Linked DNA regions of Homo sapiens: all the other regions are linked to region 3. Evidence: promoter capture Hi-C in 16 types of primary human blood cells and fetal thymus (Javierre and others, 2016). All regions are on one chromosome and are shown on one strand. The core of a region is centred on a gene start or on the middle of the fragment in contact, and the rest is flanking DNA. Distances in the headings are between cores, read along the strand shown. Region 1 holds the start of KCNQ2 (potassium voltage-gated channel subfamily Q member 2). Region 2 holds the start of EEF1A2 (eukaryotic translation elongation factor 1 alpha 2). Region 3 holds the start of ABHD16B (abhydrolase domain containing 16B).

Region 1 (3,413 bases), core at 568-3,067, 390 kb after region 3:
ATTTTGAGCTACGGCTGCTCCCTCGGGTCTTCTGGTGAGTGGGAAAGACCAGCGGCACCAGCCAGCGTGTGCAGGGAGATGCCACGGTGCTCTCTTCCTTCTGCATACTGAAGTCCTCTCCCTCCCCTGAAAGCACCAGGCTGGTGCCTCCTCCCTTAACAATCGAGAGAAACCGCAGCCGCTTGGGGCAAGCCCACTTCATGCTGGTAATCACAGCCAATGCGTGGGCACAGAGGCAGGGAGGCGGGGATCCAGAAAGTACCCCTGGATGTGCACAAGCTTGTGTAAGTTGCCGTCTATCCCCAACGTCCTGGATAACGTACAGGTTAGCATTCTGCCTGCACCGACCCTTCTGTATTCAGCCTAGTTAAAAACAAAACAACAACAACAAAAACAGGCCCCGTGGCCACTAGCTCTGGAAACCAAAGGGCAAACACAACTCAAGAGCTCACTCTGCACCAGGGTTAGGGCTGTTTTATGAGCAGGTCACCTGCGAGGACGGCGCCAGCGATTCAGCAGAGGGCCTTTCTCTGGGTAGAACCCATGGTGCCAGGCGAACGTGCAAACAGGCTGGATGTAGTCAGAGACGCACTCGAAGATGACACCCCTCCTGGATGTGCAGAGGAAGGCCCAGTGGCGGGGCACCTCACAGGGCGGGCAGCACTGAGCCGCAGGGGTCCCTTGGTCTCCCAGCAGCAGCTCCAGAGGGACCCCTCCCAGGACACATGGCTGCCGGCAGGGGGGAGGCCACCTCCGCGCACTTGCCCCCAAGGAAACACCGTCCCATCTGTGTCCAGGAGGCACAGATCTGCCTCCTTTGTCCCGAGGTGTGGCACTGGGCTTCCTGCTGGCCTGTCTGCTGCCCTGGGGCCACCCTCCAGTCCCTGCCCCTGCCACAGGCCCCTTCTGGGGTCTGCATAACTAAGTCCAGGCCCCTTGGGGGGCTTCAAGGCCCTCTAGGAGTGACTCTCTCCCATCCCCCACCCCATGGCCCTTGCTCCTCTTCTTGCCTCCCGGCCTCTGTGGCCACCCCCTTTCCCCTGGGCTGCTTTCCTTGCAGGGTGCCTCCAGCCTCCACAGACCCTCCCTGCACACACCCTGGGGTCTAGGGGGTCCTACTGCCTGGGCAACCCTGACACCGAGAGCATGAGGTCACCATGGGCTGAGCCCTAACAGAGTCTTGGGGAGAGCCCCTACCCCCATCCCTTCCCGGAGGCGTCCACTCCCAGGGCCCAGCTGAGAAGACTCCAGTCCTGCTCAGGCGGCTGGGCACCGCTCTGGGACCCCAGGAGCGCTGGGGCCACCAGGCAGGTCCACTTGGTTAGTACTACCGGACTCAAAGGTGACCGCAGGGTCAGTGTGCACATGGCCGGGGGATTGGGCAGGCTCAGCCCAGAGCTCTGGTCCCGCGGGCCTTGGTCCCTTCTGCCTCCCCCTCCTCTCCCCCTGCCCTCCCCTCCCCCTCCCCCACTCCCCCTCCTCTCCCCCCTCCCCTCCCCCTCCACTCCTGTCTCCCCCCTCCACTCCTGTCTCCCCTCTCCCCGTCCCCGCCACTCTCCTCCCCTCCCATTCCCCTCTCCTCCCCTCCCCCTCCCCTCCTGTCTCCCCTCTCCCCGTCCCCTCTCCCTCCCCTCCCCTCCCTTTCCCTCTTCTCTCCTCCCCTCTCCTCTCCTTCCCCCCTCCCCTCCCCTCCCCGTCCCTCCCTCTCCCCTCCCTTCCCCTCCCTCTCTTCTCCTCCCCTCTCCTTCGACTGGCGTCGCGGGGGTTAACGCGGGGCGGGGCGAGGCGGCGGGCGGAGCCGGCGCGGCCGCGGGCCAGGCGCCGAGGTGCGCGCGGAGCGAGGTGGCCGCAGCGTCTCCGCGCGCGGCCCAAGCCCGGCAGGAGTGCGGAACCGCCGCCTCGGCCATGCGGCTCCCGGCCGGGGGGCCTGGGCTGGGGCCCGCGCCGCCCCCCGCGCTCCGCCCCCGCTGAGCCTGAGCCCGACCCGGGGCGCCTCCCGCCAGGCACCATGGTGCAGAAGTCGCGCAACGGCGGCGTATACCCCGGCCCGAGCGGGGAGAAGAAGCTGAAGGTGGGCTTCGTGGGGCTGGACCCCGGCGCGCCCGACTCCACCCGGGACGGGGCGCTGCTGATCGCCGGCTCCGAGGCCCCCAAGCGCGGCAGCATCCTCAGCAAACCTCGCGCGGGCGGCGCGGGCGCCGGGAAGCCCCCCAAGCGCAACGCCTTCTACCGCAAGCTGCAGAATTTCCTCTACAACGTGCTGGAGCGGCCGCGCGGCTGGGCGTTCATCTACCACGCCTACGTGTGAGTGGCCGGCGGGGCCCCCGTGGCGACCCCCATGGCGACCCCCATCGGCGACCCCATCGGCGACCCCGGCCAGGCTGGCTGCGGCGGGTTTGGCTCCCTGCCCCTGGGTCTGGGTCCGGGGCCGGCGCTCCCCGGCGGGAGTGCTGGGCCGAGACCGGAGAGCGATTGTACAGCGCGCGGGCAGGAAGGATTCCGGGGTCGGGGCCGCTCAGGTCGGGGTGGGGGCTCCAGGCCCGCAGGACAGAGACGTGCGGCCGCCCCAGCCCCCTCCTCAGCCTGGGAGGCCCCTCCCCGCGGCCTCTGCGCCGAACAAAGGGCCGGCCGGGGAGGGACGGCGGCAGCGCTGGGTCTGGACTCTCCGGGACTCTCGGGGACCCGCGGGGCTGGGGCCGCCCGACCAAGCGAGGGCGGGGGGGAGGGGTCTGGCCTGTCCTCCGCCATCCTCCCGAGCCGCTCTCCCTCAGACTAGGGTGAGCTTCTGGGTTCCTGAGATGGGGGAGGGGCCCTCCCATGACCCCCCCACCCCAGCCCGGGCTGAGCGCAGCTGTCTGTCCTGCCCCCTCGGCGCCGACGCCCCTCCCTGGCCCCGCGAACCCCCTCAGCTCCTGCGCTCAGCTCCTGCGCTGTCCCATCTCTGCAGCCGCCGGCCGCCCCCGTGCACATCCCGGGCTCAGGACCCCTCCTTGGCAGAGCGAGGCCCGGGGGAGGGGCTGCGGCAGACCTGGGACCCCCAGCCCTGGGCCTGGAAGGGGCTGTCCCCTCTTCCCGGGCGAGGCTCAGGGAACGGCTGCCTCCTGGGGCAGGGCTGGCGGGGGGCGGCCGAAGCCTGCGTCCGTGTGCACCTGGGTGTTCGCATGTGGAATTGCACGGCCCGCTGCGTGTGCGGCCTGTGCGGCCGGTGTGCACAGCCTCCCCGCGCCAGGGCGCTTGCTCTCCCATCCCAGCTGAACAAGGGACCCGCTGAGCTCCGGGACCGGCCATTTTGTGTGAGAGGCATTTTGGGATGGGAGTGAGGGGCAGACTGGTCACAAGCTGGTCGGGCGCCCACCTGGGCCGAGAGGGGTGTGTGCCCCACGAGTGTGCCCCAGCCTGCGTGTGGCCTTGAG
Region 2 (3,297 bases), core at 671-3,170, 360 kb after region 3:
GGACCAAACGTGTCCTGGCGCCTGGGAGACCCTTTGGAGCAGCCACCGACACCCTTGCCCAGAGTCAGCACACAGGTGCTTTGGGGAGGTTGCCACATTCCACTCTCAGGGGCCACTCCTGTGGGTGGCAAGGCCCCACGGCACATGTGAGCCCCTGGCACTGCTATGGGTGAGCCGGGAGCCGAGGGGGAAGGGGTGTCTGGAAAAGGTAGCCCAGAGTCCTGGTGATCCCTTGGGGGAGTGGGGTGGGCATCCCCGGGACCCCGGCCTGGGCCACTCGAGCACCTGCAGCAAGCCCACTTCCAAATCCCTGCCTAACCTTCAGGCTGCAGGGGAGGCGTTAAATATAGAGACCAGCTGGGTGGGGTGGGGCGGGCCTTGCTTTCTTGCCAGGCGGTTATTTTTATTCCTGGCTCCTGTTTGACGGCATCGGCAGCACTCGGAAGTGCCGGGGCACCTAGCAGGCCCTCCCTGCCTCCTCTCCTGCCTGTGGCCCAGGAGCCCAAGTCCCTGGACTCCTATGGGGCAGACGCAGCCACAGACCAGGGTCCTCCTGAGAGGCCCTCTCCACAGGCTGGGGAGAACTGTTTGGCCCCGACCCTGGGCCCCCACCTTTCCTTCCTCCTCACACCTGCCAGCAGGCCAGGTAGGGGTCCAGTCGCTGGGGATCCCCATGGATTTGCCCAGTCGCAGCTGCTGGGCCCGACCCGGGGCCTCCATGTCAACACCCAGTGGGAACTCAGGGCTGAGAGGACAGGTGCCAGGGCTCTGCCCCCACTCAGCACACACCTCCCGAGACCCCGCTGGCAGGAAGATCCGAGTGCGTGGGGGTGGGGGGGCAGCGTGGGAGGGAAGACCTGAATACCTGGGTGAGACGACAGGATCTTGGGGTCTGGAGAAAGCCCCTAACCTTGGTCTTCACACAACACATGGCTGCCACATCCCCTTCCTCACAACCCACGTTGGTCATTACCCGCGTGTGCCAGGACCTCAGGGACTCCCCACTTCCTACAGAGCGTGGCCCGGTCTTTGGCTTGGCATCCTGACCCCATATGAGCATCAGCTACAAGGCGCTGAGGTGCAGCGGGGTGGGGCGCTGGGCGGGGGGGCCTGGGTCTGTCTGGATCTGACTCGCCCTTGGCTGGCGCTGTTTCCCAGCAGCAGCCGGAGGTCGGCGCACCCGGAGGGGAGGGTCCCTGGAAGATGTCAGTGGGTCTGGGAGCGGGCTTCCGGCGTTCCCTGCACCGTGGGAGACCAGCCTCTCAGGGGGAGGGTGGTTCTGCGCTGGATCCTCGGGGCCTGTCATGGTGCGCCCAGGAGGGCAGGCACGTGAGGACAGGGACTGGAAACCAGCAGATTTCCACCCTGAGGCCTGCACCCCCGGGCCTCATTAGGGAGAGCCCCTCAGAGCCGGGCTTCGTTGGTTCTGGGGCGTCCCCCATGAGCAGGGCCGGGGAGGGGCCGGTAGACCCAGGCTCGTCTCCCAGGCTGCAGCCCACCTGCTCCCCTCCCCCGCCTGCCGGCTCCGGTCCTCGGCGTCTGCCCTGTCCCCGGGGACCGCTTTTCGCGGCTCAAGCGTGTTCCTGCCCTGAGCCGGCTCTCGCCCCGTCTCCCGGGCCCGCCGCGCTCTCCCCGCGCCGTCTCCGTCCCGGTCCCTCCCTCCCGCCGCCTCCCTGCCCTGCCCCCCGCCCCGCCCCCGCCCGCGGCGCGTTTCTCCCCCGCCTCCCGCGTCCGTCTTTGCAGCCCGCGCCTCCCGCATCGCCTCGCGTCCCCGTGGCGCCCGCCCGCGCGCGTCCGCGCCCCGCCCCCTCCCGCGCGGTTCCGCATTGGCGTGCTGCAGGGCGCGGTGCACTGCGCCGCCACCGTCAATAGGTGGACCCCCTCCCGGAGATAAAACCGCCGGCGCCGGCGCCGCCAGTCCCTCTGGCTGAGACCTCGGCTCCGGGTAAGGACGCTCGGCCCCCGGGCCTCCGCCCCCGCCCCCGTCTTCCGAAGAGGGACCCCCGGGGCCGGTCCTGGGGGGCAGAGGGTGGCCGGGCCCCGCACCCGCCCCCGCGCGCGCCCGGAGTCCGGCTTCCGGGGGTCCCCGCGTCGGCCGGGCTGGGCCCGGGGTGGGGGGCGGCGCGGGGCGGCGGGGCCGGGTCCTGGGCGGCGATCGCCCCGTAGCCGTGACCTTGGGGCCGCGGGGACCCTGCGGGCCGGGGGCTGATGGGGGTCGGGCTTCGGGGCGCTGGGCCAGAGGACGCTGAGGGAGGTGGTGAGATCTGGGGGCCCTGGCCTCCCCACCCCCACCCGTGTTCCCACCCCAGGGTGGCTTCTGTCCTCTTTCCCTCCCCCAGCCACCTGTCCGCGAGGAGCAGCGTGGGTTTCTCCACTGACCTCTGTGATGGGACAGGGCTGTGACCCAGGGTCCTGAGTCACAGGGAGGGGGGGAGGGAGGGTGCCCCCTATACCCCCACGGGGCCGAGGGCATCTCCACCTGGCACTTGCTGGGCTCGGCAGGGCCGGGTCCTCCTTCCTCAGGCTGGAACAGGGACCCCCACCTCCCGGCCGCTGTCTGTCCCTGTGAGAGTCCGGGAGGGGGGTGCCTAGAGCTATTCTGGGTTCCTAATCTGGGCAGCGCATCTCCGTCGGGGCTCTGGCCCAGCCTGCCGGGCAGGGATGAGGGGAAGATGGCGCCGTCCCTGCCTGAGGAGGGGAGTGGGGAGCAGTGGCCATCTCTCCCCGGTGGCAGCGGGTGGGGGTGGGGCGCCGTGTCCCTGGCCCTGCCGCCGGGGAGGGGAGTGCGCGTGCAGGACAGGGCCCTGGAGCGCTGGGCAGGTGACTCATCACCCGGCTCTGCTGGTCACGGACGTACCCAGCCTGGCGCTGCGTGGTCTCTCCAAATGGTGGCTAACCCCTTCCCAAGGAGCAGCCCGCGGGCTCCAACGCCCAGTTATTTACAGCAGATGGGGCTGTTTGGGCTCAAGTGTGGGGTGGGGGCAGTGCACAGCCTCTGCTTGCCCTGGCCAGGCCCAGCTGTGGGTGGGGGCCCTTCCCTCCCCACCAAACATGGGGGCTTGGTTTGTGGGCAGGGATGCCTGTCCAGCCTGTGCCAGGACAGTCTCTGCTGGTGTCTCCCCCTGGGGCTCCCCATCACCGGTCTCCCCACCACCACTGGCCCCACAGAATCACTGCAGCCCCCCTCGCCCTGAGCCAGAGCACCCCGGGTCCCGCCAGCCCCTCACACTCCCAGCAAAATGGGCAAGGAGAAGACCCACATCAACATCGTGGTCATCGGCCACGTGGACTCCGGAA
Region 3 (3,619 bases), core at 787-3,286:
GGTGGGAGGGAGCCCTACAGAATGATAGCCAGTGCTAACTCCTGGGAATGTCCAGCCACTAAGACCTGCCCACAGCCCTGCCATGCCAATGTCCTCCTTTTCACGGGAGCAGCTTGCACAGACTTTCAGCGCACAGCTGGCATTGTCTTCCCAGGAGCCATCCTGTAACCCAGGCCAGGTGAAGGGCTCCTCCCTGGGACCCCACAGCCCCGTTCCCATCATCCTTTTGTGGTGATCAAGGCACCCATCACACAGTATTGCCATAAACCGGGTCAGGTTAACCTTTCATTCCCTTAGGAGCTGGGTGGGGGCAGCCAAAAGTATTTGTAGGAGGAAGAGAGAAAGGAGGGGACAGAGCTAGGAAGAATGGGAGGACGGTCAGAACGCCCCTGTGAAGGAAGGAGAGCACCAAGTCCCCGTGTTCTGCCTACCCTCCCCCAGACAGCAGATCAGGAGCACCCCGCGCGCCCCCCCCCGCCCCGCCCCGCGTCGGCGCCGGCCCCCTGCAATGGTTGGCGGTATGGGGAGGTGAACCAAGAAGGCCAGGAGTTCAAGTGCGTGATCCCCCACTGGGGCATATAGGTTACAGCCGCCAGGGCAACTGAAACTCCTCAGGCTCCAGAGGGCTGAAGTGAGTCGCCTCCACGTTCTTGAGGTGCTTCCGAGCCAGGAACAGTGCGAGGCGCCGGCGCCGCCGCGAGCTCAGGCCCTGGCCCACCAGCCATGGGAAGGCGGGTCCGTGTGGCCCCAGGGCCTCCTCGCCCTCCAGCTCCTCTTCGCAGCGTGCACGGTAGGAGCGCAGCAGCGCCAGGCACCAGTCCTCGTCCACGCGGTAGCGTGCATAGAAGGCGGCCTCCTGCGCCAAGCTGCCAGCGCGCAGCCAGCGGGTGACGACGGCGCGGCCCTCTCGCGCCATCACGACGGGGTAGCGGTGCTCCAGCAGGCGCAGCAGCAGCTCATTGCCCCGGTTGCCCTCCACGTCACCAGGTGACAGGGGGCGCAGGCGGCCCGAAGTGCTGACCACGTCATCCTGCGTGCGTCGGAGCAGCAGCACCGGCCCCGGGTAGCAGCACAGCTGCTCGGCCACGTTGAGGTTGAAGTGCTCGCGCACGGTGCGCACCACCAGCCCCTTCCAACTGTGGGGCATGACCTTCAGCGCCAGCGGCACAAGGTCGTCGAAGGTGGCGTCCAGCACCAGTGCACCCAGCTCCGGGTAGGTCATGGTGGCCCAGGTGGCCGTGAAGCCGCCAACAGACCAGCCGTAGACCACCAGGTGCGCGGGCGGGAAGTGCAGGCGGTGCAGTGCGTACTCGACCACCACGTCCATGGCGTTGGCGTCGTGCTGAGGGAAGGGCACGCCAGTGCTGCTGCCGAAGCCGGGGTGGTTCCAGCCCAGCACGGAGTAGCCGGCCTCGAGCGGTGCAGACAGACAGCCCATCTCGTAGAAGCCCGCGTTGCCTTCGCAGCAGATGACGAGGCGCGGCCCGTGCACGTGGCTGCCCGGGTGCTGGCGGCGGTCCATGAACATAGTGTCGATCTCGTTGCCGTCACAGGCCACCAGCTTGGCGCGCCGGCCGTGGTAGCGCTCCACGAGGCGCTCTTGGCCCTGCTGCAGCAGCGGCAGCAGCGCGCGCGTCATCAGGGACACGGAGCCGGGGTACACGAGCCAGCGGCCCAGCGAGTGGGCCAGCGCGTAGCTAGCGAGCTGGCCGGGCAGCTCGCGGAGCTGCTGCAAGAGGCACTGCGCCTGGCTGCGCGCCCCACGTGGAGGCCGCCCCAGCGCATCCCCGCCCAGCGTCTCGTCCCGCAGCAACCACACGCCCGCCGCGGCTGCCGCGCAGGTCAGCGCCCGGTGGCTGCTGCTCCGGCCCACGGCGCGCACGTCATCCCAGCGGAAGGCCACGGGCCAGCCGCGGAATGGGTAGGTGTAGCTGGCGGTCAGGTAGATCTTGAACACGCGCACCAGCGCCTTCACGAAGCAGATGACGCACATGAGCGGTGGCCCTAACGCCCAGCCGCTGGGCCGGGATCGCCGCGAGAGGCACAGGGCAGTCTTAGGGGATACCGGCTCCCGGACAAGCCCTGATGGCCTTTGTGACCTGGCCTTCCAGGGCGGAGGGAAGGCTGCATCCTGTTGCTAGGTGATGGGTGCACAAAGGGTTCCCAGAGATGATGAACCCAAGGTTCTGCCCGTCCCCCGCCTTCGCCAAGACCCCACCAGCTAAACGCTCCCAGGCCCAGCTTTCCCACCCATGATTTGAGCAGCTACTGTCTCCCTCTTTCTTCCTTATTTATTTATTAAATTGAGATGGGGTCTCACTATGCTGCCTAGGCTGGTCTTGAACCCCTGGGCTCAAGCGATCCTCCCGCCTCCACCTCCCACAGTGTTGGGATTACAGGTGTGAGTCCCTGCACCCCGCCTCCACCTCCCACAGTGTTGGGATTACAGGTGTGAGTCCCTGCACCCCGCCTCCCTCTTCCTTAAATTTAAGATGGACAGCCCCACGGGCCAAAAAGGGACAGCAAGGCCTCCTCCGCCTGTACCAGGCTTGCTGTGGGTCCTGCAAGTTTCCCTTCAGGGTCTGCTGGTTTAAACCTCATCTCCCCAGGACGGCCGGGGTCAGAGACAGGGCTGCTGCTGCACCAAAAAGGCGGTATTTGCTCTCGGCCCGGCCCCTCCTCTCCACACCTTCCTTCTTCGGTGCTGACCAGAAACAAGCCCTCTCCTTTTCTGGATCCTCTTTTCACTGGCTGCCAGCAACAGCAGTGACCTTCTGGGGCGGGTCCTGCCTGGCTGGGGTTCCTCTTTCTCGCTCCTGGGTCGAGCCCCCACTCCCAGGCTGCGCCTCCCTCTTTTCTGGAGAGGTATCTTTTCTCCTGCCCTGGAAAGGGCCAGCCCACCTGAGGGCAGGGTCGGAAGCCGCCTGCCAGGAGGAGCCCCAGGGAAGAGGGCAGCTCCAGGTACTCAACAGCTCCCCAGACCAGAAACAAACATGCTACAATCAGGGAGTTTGGCAAATCCAGCCAGAGCCTCTGAGCCCAGGTGCCAGGCCCGCCTGGGACCCCAGCCTTCTGGGGAAGGGGTAGTTTCAGGCTGAAGCACCCCCTCTCTGCTCTCCTGCTCAGCGTCTGGGTTAGAGGCACTGCCTGACCCTAACAGGCCCCGCCCCTAGTTGGGGGAGTCAGCTGCTGCCTTTAGGGGTTGGGGGACAGAAGACAGGGACCAATTAACAAAGGGAGCGATTTGGGGGGCTATTACCCCCATTCTAGGTTGCCAGATAAAATACAGAATAATATGCCAGTTAAATTGGAATTACAAATAAACAAATACTTTTTGGGTATAAGTATGTTCCAACTTCTGCTTGAGACATTATTTTAAAATTGTTTATCTGAAATTCAAATTTAACTGGATATCCTGTTTTTTCTGTTTGTTTGTTTGTTTGTTTTTGAGACGGAGTCTCACTCTTGTCGCCCAGGCTGGAGTGCAATGGTGCAATCTCAGCTCACTGCAACCTCTGCCTCCTGGGTGTTCAAGCAATTCTCCTGCCTCAGCCTCCCAAGTAGCTGGGATTACAGGTGCCCGCCACCATGCCCGGCTAACTTTTTGTACTTTTAGTAG

The links. Contacts are between HindIII fragments. The CHiCAGO score rates a contact against its expected background, and 5 or more counts as called.
Region 1: a contact is called between the fragment with the promoter of KCNQ2 here and the fragment with the promoter of ABHD16B in region 3, in 1 of 17 cell types (activated CD4 T cells). The highest score is 5.7, in activated CD4 T cells.
Region 2: a contact is called between the fragment with the promoter of EEF1A2 here and the fragment with the promoter of ABHD16B in region 3, in 3 of 17 cell types (total B cells, naive B cells and erythroblasts). The highest score is 7.3, in total B cells.

The regions. Positions count from the first base shown.
Region 1 is chr20:63,471,059-63,474,471 of GRCh38, reverse strand. It overlaps KCNQ2 (potassium voltage-gated channel subfamily Q member 2), which reads left to right and starts at 1,817. Exons shown (of 17, transcript NM_172107.4): 1 at 1,817-2,304. The coding sequence starts at 2,009. The HindIII fragment of the contact is 3,283 bases long and covers 282-3,413 here.
Region 2 is chr20:63,497,706-63,501,002 of GRCh38, reverse strand. EEF1A2 (eukaryotic translation elongation factor 1 alpha 2) reads left to right here and starts at 1,920. Exons shown (of 8, transcript NM_001958.5): 1 at 1,920-1,945; 2 at 3,169-3,297. The coding sequence starts at 3,240. LOC124904955 (a long non-coding RNA gene) reads right to left here and starts at 2,721. Exons shown (of 2, transcript XR_007067719.1): 1 at 2,380-2,721. RefSeq lists enhancers at 1,286-1,855, 2,116-2,911. The HindIII fragment of the contact is 27,651 bases long and covers 1-3,297 here.
Region 3 is chr20:63,859,915-63,863,533 of GRCh38, reverse strand. ABHD16B (abhydrolase domain containing 16B) reads right to left here and starts at 2,036. Exons shown (of 1, transcript NM_080622.4): 1 at 546-2,036. The coding sequence starts at 1,993. The coding sequence ends at 584. It overlaps ABHD16B-AS1 (ABHD16B antisense RNA 1), which reads left to right. Exons shown (of 2, transcript NR_165314.1): 2 at 1-2,319. The HindIII fragment of the contact is 10,144 bases long and covers 1-3,619 here.